Linked DNA regions of Homo sapiens: all the other regions are linked to region 2. The links are contacts of gene promoters, found by promoter capture Hi-C in blood cells and fetal thymus (Javierre and others, 2016). All regions are on one chromosome and are shown on one strand. Each heading gives the region's core, a stretch centred on a gene start or on the middle of the fragment in contact. The rest is flanking DNA. Distances are from core to core; before and after follow the strand shown. Region 1 overlaps PRKACB (protein kinase cAMP-activated catalytic subunit beta). Region 2 holds the start of SAMD13 (sterile alpha motif domain containing 13). Region 3 overlaps PRKACB (protein kinase cAMP-activated catalytic subunit beta). Region 4 overlaps DNASE2B (deoxyribonuclease 2 beta).

Region 1 (3,073 bases), core at 160-2,659, 99 kb before region 2:
TTGATTTTTTTATTATTATAAATAACTATGATAAACATCCTTATACATAAAAGTTTTTTCCTTATTTTACATTATTTCCTTAGCATATATTCCCAGAAGTAGAATTACTGGGTCAAGGAATAGGAACATTTTTAAGGCTTTTGATACATATTGCCAAATTGCTTTCCAAAGTTATTATGCCATTTTACACTTCTACCATTAGTGTATTATAGTGCCTATTTCATAACACTATCACTGGGTATACTCATTTTTAAAATATTTACTGATTTCATAGGCAATAAATTGTATCTCATTGTTTTAATTCTCATGTTTTTTATTTATTTTTCAAATGGTTAATAGCCATTTGGTATTTCTTTATGTGTCTGTAAATTATTAGTTCATTTCCTTGGCCCATTTATCTATTGTAATTTAACATTTTTCTTATTGATGTGTTTTGATTTCTATACCTTGGGTATTAACTTGTGTCTGACATATTTACTATAAACATTAGCACACAATTTAAACATATGAATCAAAAAGTTAAAGAGAGTTAATGCCTATTTCTATTAAAAAACAAAGTGCTATTCCTGTTATACCACTCCTTCCCTTAAAAAGATATACACAGTATCAGGAAAAAAAAGAGAAAAAGAAAATCTCTATAGCGCTAAAGTATTATATTTTTGCTAGAATTTTGAAAACTAAGTAGTTTGTAAAGCTAAAATTTTGACAAAAGGGTGGAATGTGGTGAGTCGTGATGGTAGAGGGTACCTCTGAGGGCAGAGCAATAGATCTGGGTAGAATTCAGCTTATTTCTCTTCATGACAGGTTTTTGGGGTTGTTAAAAAATCTCTTGTGTCAGTTGATACTGACCATAGTTAATAAACTATATTAGCATGTTAATATGAAGATGTTATTCTTATTTATTTTCTTATGAATACTTACAAATTTTAATTTTAGTAAGCTTAATATGAAAAAAACAAACATAACCTGTGATTTTTACATTTGGTTTGCAAAGCACTTTTTACACACGTTACTCCCTTTCATTTGATACAGTCCTCACAAAACTCTGTGAATTCATTTTTTTCCTGCATATCTTTTAGATATAGGAAGCAAGACAGTAGATAGCAGAAGTAAAGTATACCTAAATATTTACATGAATTGAATTTTACATTAAACTTTTTGCTTTCACAAAATCCTATGAAGCAGATGGGATTATCCCTAGCACATTCACCCTCCTAACTCCAAAAATATAGAGTATTTTGAAGTCAACTTCATTATTTACTATGTAGTCCAGTTTCTATTATTTTCTTTGAAAACTTTTGATCTTTCTAGGCATGCTGTGGAAAATCTGTTTCATAAGATTATGGACCTAGAGTGGGCCTTAAGAAGTAATGTGGTCTAACTGCCTTCCTGTTATTGAGCAAGAACTAAATTATACCAGTGAAATAAAGAAAATTTCATTGTCTATAATATTCTTAATAATTTTAGGAAGAAGATTTAATACTCTTTCCTAATATCCAATTTCAGTATCTGGAAATCCTCTCCTTTGTTTAATTTAAATCTGACCTGATACATTTGGTTCATTTTTAAATTCTGTCCTGAATAGCTGCTCAGCAATTGCTTTAAAAAAATTTTTATATGCTTCCAGATCATTTTGAAATTATCTTTGACTTCATTCTCTTTTGAGTAACTTAAGTAACAATTGACATTGGTGTTGGTTTATCTCAGGGCTACAATAAGGCAGTGGATTGGTGGGCATTAGGAGTGCTAATCTATGAAATGGCAGCTGGCTATCCCCCATTCTTTGCAGACCAACCAATTCAGATTTATGAAAAGATTGTTTCTGGAAAGGTAAGTAAAACATTTTATTATTCCTCTCTTATTACTGTATATGAATTTTAAGCTTCATGAATTGAAACTATATTGTGTCATAATTATTATTCTACATTGGGAAAAATATAGAAAAATCTACAGTTGCTGCTCTTACTATCATAAGAATTGAATCATTTCAGTCTCTTAAGAAAAAAAGGGCAGTTTTATAAAGAAATTAACAAAACAGTAAAGCAATTTCTGTATTTAGTATTTTTATCACAAAGAACAGGATCATAGCCATAATTCTCGATATTCCTTCAAATAAATAAAAATAGTTTATTATTTCATGTGTCTATCTTCATGGAGAAAAGTTTTAGGGGCTGTTTTATATGCCCTTCCATTTTCAGGAGAGACTTCTTGTTTTAATTATGTCCAATACTATAACATTGGAAGTAAAAGTAAATATAAAATGAATAAGCCTTTTTCAGATGGAAATTTATAGAATTGATTTTAACAGAATTGTTCATATAGATTGTGATTATACTTGTCATTGGTTTTTAGCAAACATGGAAATAACATTAATTTTTCTTCAACATGAGTAGACTTACTGTGTTGTAGTATTTTACATTTTGTAAATTTCTTCATAAACCTTCCTTCTTTTGCACTTATAACCTCTAATTTGCTTTCAAGAGTGTTTTGTTTAGGGTCAGTCATTTGCTGTTGCCTTAGCTCAGACCTCGGATCTTTTTTTAAAAGACCATTGTCAATTCAATAGAAATGAGCTTGAATTTCCTACCATGCAGCAATGAAAGAATAGGCTTTTAAACATTCCCAGAAGGAGACCTTCTATACATTAATGACAAAATATATGGGAAGGGATATTTTGCTTATTTTCCCTTCTTTCTATTTCTACATGTGGTACTGCTTTGTCTTTTCTTTTCTTTCCCACATAGTCCCATTTAGAATATGATCAGGAAATAGAGCATCAATCTTTATCACATTAGCCTGAGATGTTATAGAGTTGAGGTTTTTTTGTTTTATTTTTTATTTGTTTGCTTTGTATTTTGTGACCTTCTTAGGCAGAGATAAGCCGGAAGGAGATAGTAGAGGGAAGGTCTTTATTTCTTTGTATCTCAGCCATATTCAAGCTCTACATTTAGTGTGAAAGCTTACCCTTGGCATCTATCAACTTACAATTTCCATTGTTAACTATTCACAAGGTACCCTGAATGTCTCTAATGTGGTAATTTATTTTTTTTGCCAACACTCAAATTTAAATCAT
Region 2 (3,131 bases), core at 280-2,779:
ATCTACATAAAAGTCCATCATTTTGAGATCAGCACTGGTGAAAGATCCACATGCCTGACCCATGCTCAAAAAATACTGCTCAAAAATATTTAATTGGTTCCTAGATTACTATTGTTTGCCTTTTCAAGGGAGCAATGGCAAATATTTGAAATCTTTCTTGGCACTGATCTTCAAGGAAGTCAAAAATTTCTAATATAATTCCTGGAATAAGTAAAGAACAAATTTTTTGACCTTGAAATTCAGGTTCCAAATTTAGATCAAAGGTAATCTCCTAATGTCCTAAAAGATTATTTTTAAAAAGGGAAGCAGGCAGCTTTTTCCTCAGATTCTACCTGAATTCTACAGGATATTACAGCAAGTGATAACTTTTTCCAGGATCTTTCTGGGGAACCTGTGTTCTGTGCCCTGTCTTGAGTGGTTTTGTTGACCATCTTGACCTAAAAGTGTCCAAATGTTGATTGATGTTTATTTCAATGAAGAGGCAACCATGTATGTTTTCTGTGTATGTGCAGAACATTAATGGGATGAGATTATTCTCCTGGAAAAGTGGTTTAAGCCAAGCAAGGGAACTGTGAGAATGACCAGGGTAACTTAAACAAAAGATCTTGCCCAGCCTCTCTGCTCCACCTCCCAGTTTTCTGATTTGGTATTTAGGATGATGGCGGGAGAGACTATGAATTTTGGGGTGGGCATAATGTCTTTCTATTCATATGTAACTAATATAGTACCGGGTACTCATAGATTGTAAGTGTTGGTTAAATTTCTTGAATTATGCTTTTTGTCCAACTGGGATAAACAGTTAAAATTAAACCTCCCAGAACTAATTGTTTTCGTTTTGTAGAATAAGGTTTTGTTTGTTTCAGTTTGAATTTTTGCTGGCTTCATTTGGCAGGATAAATGCCAAAATAAAAGAATGTGGGCGTTTTCAGGAGATCTGGTCATCTATTTTGCATCCTTTCCGAAATATGTTACTTCCTGCATAATGAAGTAAAAGGATTTGCTGCTGGGCAGTGCTTTCCTTATTCTCACAAAGAGATTACTTAAAAGCCAGCCCTGGGAACTTTGTCCATGAATCTCTATTAGGAAAAAAAGAGTAACATGGGACTGCAGCTTCCGAGTGTTCTCTGGTTATAGCCCATAAGCACTGGCTTCTCACTCTTATTTTTCCCTCTGGGGAGAAAAGGAAATAGTTTGAAACATGACATTCATGCTCAGAACAACAGCTAAGACCTATCATGCAGCAACAATGAAGGGGAGGGAGAAAATAAGAAGCTATTGAGACAGCTTGTTTTTCTTTGTACAAGACAGGTGCAGGGAGAATTCTGCAGGTTTTGGACTCCTTACTCATTTCTTGCACTAATTGTGCTGAAGGTAGTTAGCAAAAGTGAACAGGCACACTGTAGCTTTAAAAAGTCAGCCATGAACCAGAAGGCAGTTGGTGCAGCTTGTGTGTGATTCCTAACGTCATGTTGGCTGAGAGCCAGCCTGGTTTTATTTCACTGTGTCAAATTGTACCTCCTTATTGAATTCCTTTGCCAGCCTACTTTGTGAAAGAAAACATTGGGGTTTCTTTGGCTGTTCTTGATAAGCCTATAAAAAATGATATTTTTTAGTTGCTTATAGGTAGGTTTTCTTTTTACTCTTCCACAGAAAAGAAAATAATAGTAATAATAATAAGACAATGTAGTGTGGTGTTGCAGAGTATCATTGTGAGTGTTTTGTTTTGTTTTCTGAGATGCTTAGAAAATGGTGAATGTGTAACAGTTTCCAACTGAAGTGAAATCATATTCTGTTAGCATGGAGCAGCAGCACTATCTTCCTGTCTACTCTCTAACGGTGTGTGAATGTATGCTAATATCTATATATATATATTAAATGTTGGATTTCTCTATCAATGATCTAAGTGGTTTGCAGCTGGAAGTTTGTGTGTATGTGTGTGTTTCAGGAGTGAAAATTATCCCACACTTACAGTGTTATTTGTTAATCATCTACTTCTCTAACAGTGATAAAATCTTGCGAATATACTAAATGATGCACTTGCCATGTCAGAGTAATCCCTAGAGAAGGAGTGCCGAAGTATAAAGTGATTTGAGTGGAAATGTATTTAATTTATGGCTTCAGCTGAATAAGAGCAAACACGTTTCGGGACTGTTTCTTCCTTTTTTTTTTTTTTTTTTCTTAAAGCAGTTTTGTTCGTAGCTTTTTCATTTTGCTAATTGCATATTAATTGTGGAAGGCTTTTAATTTTCCACAGCCCTCATCCTACTAAACAAAAAGACAGAGTGATGGATGCTACAATATCTCCTTAAATGTTTTGATGATTTTTCATAAATCTAATGAGTTACCTACTCTTTCTTACACATACACACACACACACACACACACACACACACACACACCAGCACCACCTTTCTGTGCTAAGGGCTATCTGGCATTTTTTGTGAGCTTCCTGCTTTACCACAGCATGGCCATCTCACAGACGGGTTTTTGAGGCTTTCGTTGAGAATGTGAGGTAGGGGAATACTTGCTGACAAAAGCTTTAAGTGTCCTTCTGCATTGCAATGAAAAAATCTAGGAGCAAGGGGGAGTGGACAAAAAAAAAACCAAACACAATAAGAAAAAACAAATCAAAGCCCATAATGGGAGGGGGGCAGGAAAAGGGGGATTGTTTTTCTCTACTTTGACTCATTTATGAGTTGCAGTGTCTTAAGTGAGAGCTAGGCACCCAGAAGAAGCTGTGCCAGTTCACACAGCACTTGTTTTCAACGAGGATTCAATTTCATTTGCAAATGCTTATTGTCAAGGCAGGGAGTGCCAGTACAGATGAAAGCACCCCAATCCGTCTCCTCCAGTTCTTTAGGTTTAATCACATCTCTCCAATCGCCGAGGGAACTGGAGATTTAAACAAACATACGTGAACTGGTGTGAAGCTGTAAAAGGGACCATTATGTTTCCGATTCAGAATATATATTCTTCTCTCACTTTCTAAGAATTAAACACAAGCTTTTCTCCCTTATTGATTAGTTGCTGAAGTAAAGGAACCCTGCAGCCTTCCCATGCTATCTGTTGACATGGAAAACAAGGAAAATGGCTCTGTCGGTGTAAAAAAGTAAGTGAAGCTGGCTTCTGAG
Region 3 (3,193 bases), core at 426-2,925, 120 kb before region 2:
CCTATGTATTTAAAATATTAAAACCATTAATCTTTTATACATAAAATGTAAATATTCTTATTAACTTTTTAAATTGTTTTTTACCTTTGTTATTCTTTTGCATATATTATAACGTTACTTCATTGCCTGAGTATTTAATTGTTTGAGAACTAGATGTTCTCTGCAAGAAAAGGAAGAGCAAAAGTCCCAGACTAGTTTGTGGCAAAAATAACTAGGAGGGGAAAAATATGAGTGTCTCTGTATAGAAAAGCTAGAGCATGTTCCATTTATTCTTTATTTCTCAAGGTTATTAATCTGTCAGAGAGATTTTAAATTTTTCTAATTCAGCATTATATAATATTAAAATAATTTTGACCTAAGTTGAATAATTGTATTTCCTTTTTATTTGTTCATAGGATAATTCTAATTTATACATGGTTATGGAATATGTCCCTGGGGGTGAAATGTTTTCACATCTAAGAAGAATTGGAAGGTTCAGGTAACTAATGGTTTTGCTTTCTTCAAATCTTTATATGCTTGTGTTGTTTAACCAGATTTTTAAGTTGATGCCAATGCCAAAAACTTATTTTGTTTGATTAATATTTTGGCCATATGAAGCATTAGGTGGAAACAAAGAGGCCACATCATACACAAGTTTTAATATAAAGAATATAAAAATTTAATATAAAAAAAGGACTTTGAAGCCAATTTAAATGTTATACTACTGCTAGATATTGTGAGGGTCCACTACTTGAAGAGTTTTCAGAAAATGGAAAAATTAATTGAATTTTAAAATATCAATATTTATTAAACAAAGATTAATAATACAACTCCAGGACAGAGGATTGTTTTAAGGATGAAGATGGAAAATAAATATATAGAGAAATAATAATAATAGTATTATGGTAATAAGATTATAAAAGTTTGTTTTTCACAAATTTAATTCTCCTTAAAGTTCTTGCTAAGTTTAGTTTTTAAAATATACACATAATTTAACGGGAGTTTGTACCTCATCAGGTTATGACTAATAAGATCTCAGAGTTATTAAAATAGGTTATAGAATCTGATGGTTTTACCTGTACTTAATAGTTTATAAGCTTCTACCGTTCATTAATAATCACTAATAGAATAAAGCTAAAATAAAAAACAGGTACAGCTTCATTCAGTATAGTGTGTTGAAGTCAAAATAAAAATGTAGAGACAAATCTCTAAATTCAACATTTTATTGAGGAAGCAAGAATTGCAGTTTGAGGCATATACACAGACTAGGTGGTCTTCAATGTGTCTAGAAAACAAAGAAAAGGTTGGAGGTTTTATAAAAAGAAATTTTATGTTTATTTGTTTTGAAACAAAGTTTACTAGCACTAGTTAAGTTTTGGGGAGCTGGCAAGCTCTGATTGGTGAGTGATGGTGGTGGGTCAGACTCGTCTAAGAGTCGCAGTAGGTTGTCTCAGTAGCTGTTAGAGAAAACTGGTTTCAGGTTACAATAGGCAGTTTCAGCAACTAGACTTGTGGAAAATATAATTTTTTTGTTTGTTTTTGGTTTTTTTTTTGAGACTGAGTCTCCCTCTGTTGCCCAGGCTGGAGTACAGCGGCACCATTTCGACTTACTGCAACCTCTGCCTCCTGGGTTCCAGTGATTCTCTTGCCTCAGCCACCCGAGTAGCTGGGACTAGAGGTGTCCGCCACCACATCCGGCTAATTTTTCTATTTTTGGTAGACACAGGTTTTCACCGTGTTGGCCAGGCTGGTCTCGAACTCCTGATCTCAAGTGATCCACCCTCCTTGGCCTCCCAAAGTGCTGGGATTACAGGTGTGAGCTACCACACCTGGCCTTAATTCTTGGAGCAGGTGCTGTGTGCCCTGAGTGCGTTATTCCCTGGCCCCTCGACTCTGATTTAGTTAGGTATGATGAGAATGACTAATTTGTATAATCAGCTTTCACATTTTTCCCTTTTGATCAAGATCTTTCTCTGAAAGCATTGCTTGTCAACCATCTTGAAGTTAGGCTTAATTATTCCTTGGTGCTCGGATGGACTTGTTCTGGTTGTCTCTGTCCCACATATGAGAGAAGTTATCTGTTGGGGGGTGTCTATGTAGGGACCTGGGCCACATTCAAGTAACGAGGAGGCCAGAAGGAAAATTTTTCTCAAAGTAGATTTTTGTCTGGAGTCCAGCCAGCATCGAGTTCCCACTTATCACTTCCATAGGTATTAGCAGTCATCTTTAAGTGTTGGGCTAACGTTATTCTGTTGGGACAGCTGCCTTTACAAAGATTAGATAGGCACTAAGAACAAAGCTTACAAATGATAGTACAAAAAAATTAACAATATAGTAAAATGTATTTGTGCAGTGCTTTTGAACTAAAGCCCAGGCCTAAGGGCAAAAAACTAAAGAAATCAAAGGACCAGGGGAAACTGGTGAGACCTGCTATAGCCATTGACTAACATTTTATGACTGGGTTGAACTAAAGCAGAGAATGCCAAACTTTGCAAGAGGGACCACCAGCACAAATTAAACAAAAAATTGTGTTAAGGATATTGTCGATGTTGTGACTAGATGAACTGAAAGAATTTCTTAAGTCAGGCTTTGTCAATGGCTTTAGCAGGTCTCACCAGTACCTATAGCAGTTACTGATTGTGAATTTTAAATTACAATATTATTTGGTTAAGTGAAAAAGCAGGCATTAAGAGGGGTAAGAGTTTCATTACAATATGGAGTCTTGTTCTAGTGTTTTGAGAAAAGCTGTTCACACCATGGAAAACATCAACTTTCTTGGCTTTGTTTACAGTGTAAATGTCTCTGGCTATGGCTTTGGGCAGTTTGATGAACTTTCTGTGTGGCCCATACATCAGGCATGAGACTTGTTTCTTAAAATTTATATAGTTTCAGCTAACAGGACTTCAGGAACAGAGCGGTTCTCATTTTAGTAATTTTATGGAAGAAAGTTCGATTGGAGGAACCTAGAAGAATTTAGGACCTTGTCTAGTCTATAGGTAGATAACAAGACTCAAAAATAATGTACAGACTTACAGTCTAATAACAGGTATATTATAGTTATTCTTTAGAAAAAACTTTTTTCTCTACATTGATTACATAGGAATCTTGGATTTAAAAACCTCTTGAGGCAAGGAAGCCGAACCAAGGCAGTCTTAGATTTTCCTTACAGTCTTGAGGTTCCTGGTCCTGCCAGGAAGTAACAGTTTTTATTTAC
Region 4 (3,185 bases), core at 589-3,088, 110 kb after region 2:
TGACTGGGTTGCCATGTGGCCCCTACCCTTCCTTATCTCATTCTACATACCCATGCTGGGCAATTCCAGCAAGCCCTCCAATGATTCTCAAGTCTTGATCTCTACCCCAGACCTCTATACTGACTGATGTATTTAACAGCAAGTGAGACATTTCTACTTGAAGGTGGTACAGCCACATCAAGTTCAACATGCCAAACTCACTGCGTCATCATCCCCTACAAATCTACTTTTTCTTGTATTCTGCATAGTTACCCAGTCACTCCCCATCTCTTCTTTTTCTGACCCTTCTATCAAACCATCAAATTCAGTCAGTTCCAGATCCTTAATAACACTCACATGTATTGTATCTTCTCCAAACTCTTTGCCACTGCCATGGGTCACACCTGTGTTTATTGACACAGTTATTATGACAGCCTTATGTTTTTCCTTTCTTCTTTCTAACCTGTCCTTCCCAATTCATCCTGCCCATTGCCTCTCAACTGATATTTATGATCATAAACCAGTTTCTATTAATTCTTTACTAACATTCCTTTAAAAACTCTCCACTGATTTCAGGAAAATCCAAACACTTTGGCATGATTTACAAAGTTCCCTAGAAACTGGCCCTAATTCCTTCTCTAGACTAATTTTTTCCAAAGGTCTTTCCAGGACAAAGACATATATTGCTTCATTCGTTTTATAGAACAGAAGATGTTTGCAAACACCAACATCATCATAGTAATGATGATAATAACTTACATTTGCACATCACTTTAGCATTTACAAAATGTTTTCTCATCCACTATCTCAATTATGTTGTTATTATTGTGCTCGTGACATCCACATATCAGGGGTGAAAGATGATTTCCATTCCAGAGTATATTTTCAGGGACTAATCTAAGTGTAAATACCAACCTCACTATCTTTCTCCTCCTAAACCCTAGACATCTTTGCAGCCTGGATGGCTCAACGGCTGAAGACACACTTGTTAACAGAAACCTGGCAGCGAAAAAGACAAGAGCTTCCTTCAAACTGCTCCCTTCCTTACCATGTCTACAATATAAAAGCAATTAAATTATCACGACACTCTTATTTCAGTTCTTATCAAGATCATGCCAAGTGGTGTATTTCCCAAAAGGGCACCAAAAATCGCTGGACATGTATTGGAGACCTAAATCGGAGTCCACACCAAGCCTTCAGAAGTGGAGGATTCATTTGTACCCAGAATTGGCAAATTTACCAAGCATTTCAAGGATTAGTATTATACTATGAAAGCTGTAAGTAAACTTGGTGAAAGGACACAGGTACTATCATTGAAAACCTTGACAATGGGTCTTCTTCCATTACACCTTCTTTATATTTTAAAGGCCTGTGAATATACTTATAACCTGCATATCACAAAATAAAACATTTTTCTCTCATGTTTACCATTTAATCTTCTATTTAATGGTAATTTATTTACTTTGCACTATATATCATAGACATAAACCATTATACACAACTGAGAATAGAAGAAATAAAAAGAAAAATATTTTTCCACATTAGTCAACTCCAATTGTTTATGGATTGACTGGCCACCTAGTAGATTACATTTCCTCTCCTTCACAAAGACTTCCCTGACTCTCTTCCCCACCCTTTTTTGAAGAAAAGCAAATAACTCTCTCTGCGTATTCTTCCATACTATTTGATCATATTGCTCCTAAAGTTCTTTCTCACTGGTTTATGGTTAAGACTTATTTGTCATTCTTTCAGCTACTACTTACTAATTGGATGATCTTGAGCCATTCACTTGGATTCTCTGAACCTTGTTTTTTTTAATCTATGAAAGGGAGATAATAGCTAGGTATGTTCAAGTACCTAGCACAGAGCCCGGCACATAGATGACACTTAAAAATAATGGTGGCATTTGAGTTTGAATTCCAGCAAAAAAAAAAACAAATAAGTTTCAGAAATGAGTGATATTTTACAAGAAGAATGTTAAAGTCACATTAGGAGAAAAAAAACTGCATAAGTGTGACTCATCAACTTGAAGGAAATAAAGAAGTGTAACATAATGAAACCAGAATCAAATGCAATAGTCTTTTTTTTTTTTAATAATAGAGATGAGGTCTTGCTTTGTTGCCCAGGCTGGTCTTGAACTGGGCTCAAGCAATCCTCCCACGTTGGCTTCCCAAAGTGCTGGGATTACAGGAATGAGCCACTGCACCCAGCCAAATGCAATAATCTTAATTTCAATGTGTTTCTTTTTCTGGCATTCTTATCACTACTTGTAACTGTTATATAAATGGATAATAATAAACTTGTGTTAAGTACTAATTGCTTAATAATATTTGACATATGTGTTGTTCACAATTTCAAGCAGCTTACAACCTAGAAAAAGTAATCACAACAATAATAAAGCTAGCGCTTACTGAACACTTACTATGTAATAAGTATTCAACTCATAGTAATTCAGGATTCATTACAATTTTTTTTTTTTTTTTTTTTGAGACAGAGTCTCGCTCTGTTGCCCAGGCTGGAGTGCGGTGATGCGATCTCGGCTCACTGCAAGCTCTGCCTCCAGGGTTCACGCCATTCTCCTGCCTCAGCCTCCCGAGTAGCTGGGAATACAGGTGCCTGCCACCACGCCTGGCTAATTTTTTGTATTTTTAGTAGAGACGGGGTTTCACTGTGTTAGCCAGGATCGTCTCAATCTCCTGACCTCACGATCCACCCGCCTCGGCCTCCCAAAGTGCTGGGATTACAGGCGTGAGCCACCGCGCCCGGCCGATTAATTACATTTTTATTTAATCTTCATAACAATTCTATGTAGTAGGAACTGTTATTATCCCCATTTTACTGACAAGGAAATTGAGGCCTACAGAGTTTTAGGAACTTGCCTAGTATCATAGAGGTCCATCTTACCTCTGAGGCTATCGATCTTAATATCTCAATACCAACCAAAATTCATGGCACTAGTTCAATGACAAACAGAGAAAAAACTAACTTGGTTTTCCTGTCAGGAGCAAGCATAAACTATGTTGTATGCTATCTAGCTAACTAACATTCTTGCAAATATAAAGAGGCCTGAAAAAAATTATTTGGCCTCTGAGAGAGCATCTGAGGCCAAAAAAGCATAAGTAATCCAAATAATATAAGAGAAAAATTTTAAAGTACAAGATCCTGACTTTAAAAGTAAAGAGGGCCAAAACTTGATCCAATGGTAA

Evidence for each region. The method cuts DNA at HindIII sites, captures the fragments that hold promoters and counts their contacts. A CHiCAGO score of 5 or more calls a contact.
Region 1: a contact is called between a fragment that was not itself captured here and the fragment with the promoter of SAMD13 in region 2, in 2 of 17 cell types (megakaryocytes and M2 macrophages). The highest score is 6.4, in megakaryocytes.
Region 3: a fragment that was not itself captured here is called in contact with the fragment with the promoter of SAMD13 in region 2 in 2 of 17 cell types (erythroblasts and megakaryocytes); the score reaches 5.6 in erythroblasts.
Region 4: a fragment that was not itself captured here is called in contact with the fragment with the promoter of SAMD13 in region 2 in 4 of 17 cell types (M2 macrophages, M0 macrophages, M1 macrophages and 1 more); the score reaches 11.4 in M2 macrophages.

What each region holds. Positions count from the first base shown.
Region 1 is chr1:84,200,976-84,204,048 of GRCh38, forward strand. It overlaps PRKACB (protein kinase cAMP-activated catalytic subunit beta), which reads left to right. Exons shown (of 10, transcript NM_182948.4): 8 at 1,708-1,830. Among named protein-coding and RNA genes, the nearest start is that of PRKACB, 58 kb to the left of the region's middle. The HindIII fragment of the contact is 942 bases long and covers 939-1,880 here.
Region 2 is chr1:84,300,179-84,303,309 of GRCh38, forward strand. It overlaps SAMD13 (sterile alpha motif domain containing 13), which reads left to right and starts at 1,530. Exons shown (of 4, transcript NM_001134663.2): 1 at 1,530-1,623; 2 at 3,025-3,109. The coding sequence starts at 3,057. The HindIII fragment of the contact is 6,789 bases long and covers 1-2,535 here.
Region 3 is chr1:84,184,705-84,187,897 of GRCh38, forward strand. PRKACB (protein kinase cAMP-activated catalytic subunit beta) reads left to right here. Exons shown (of 10, transcript NM_182948.4): 5 at 396-478. Among named protein-coding and RNA genes, the nearest start is that of PRKACB, 42 kb to the left of the region's middle. The HindIII fragment of the contact is 1,202 bases long and covers 1,075-2,276 here.
Region 4 is chr1:84,413,605-84,416,789 of GRCh38, forward strand. DNASE2B (deoxyribonuclease 2 beta) reads left to right here. Exons shown (of 6, transcript NM_021233.3): 6 at 924-1,414. The coding sequence ends at 1,264. Among named protein-coding and RNA genes, the nearest start is that of DNASE2B, 17 kb to the left of the region's middle. The HindIII fragment of the contact is 7,103 bases long and covers 1-3,185 here.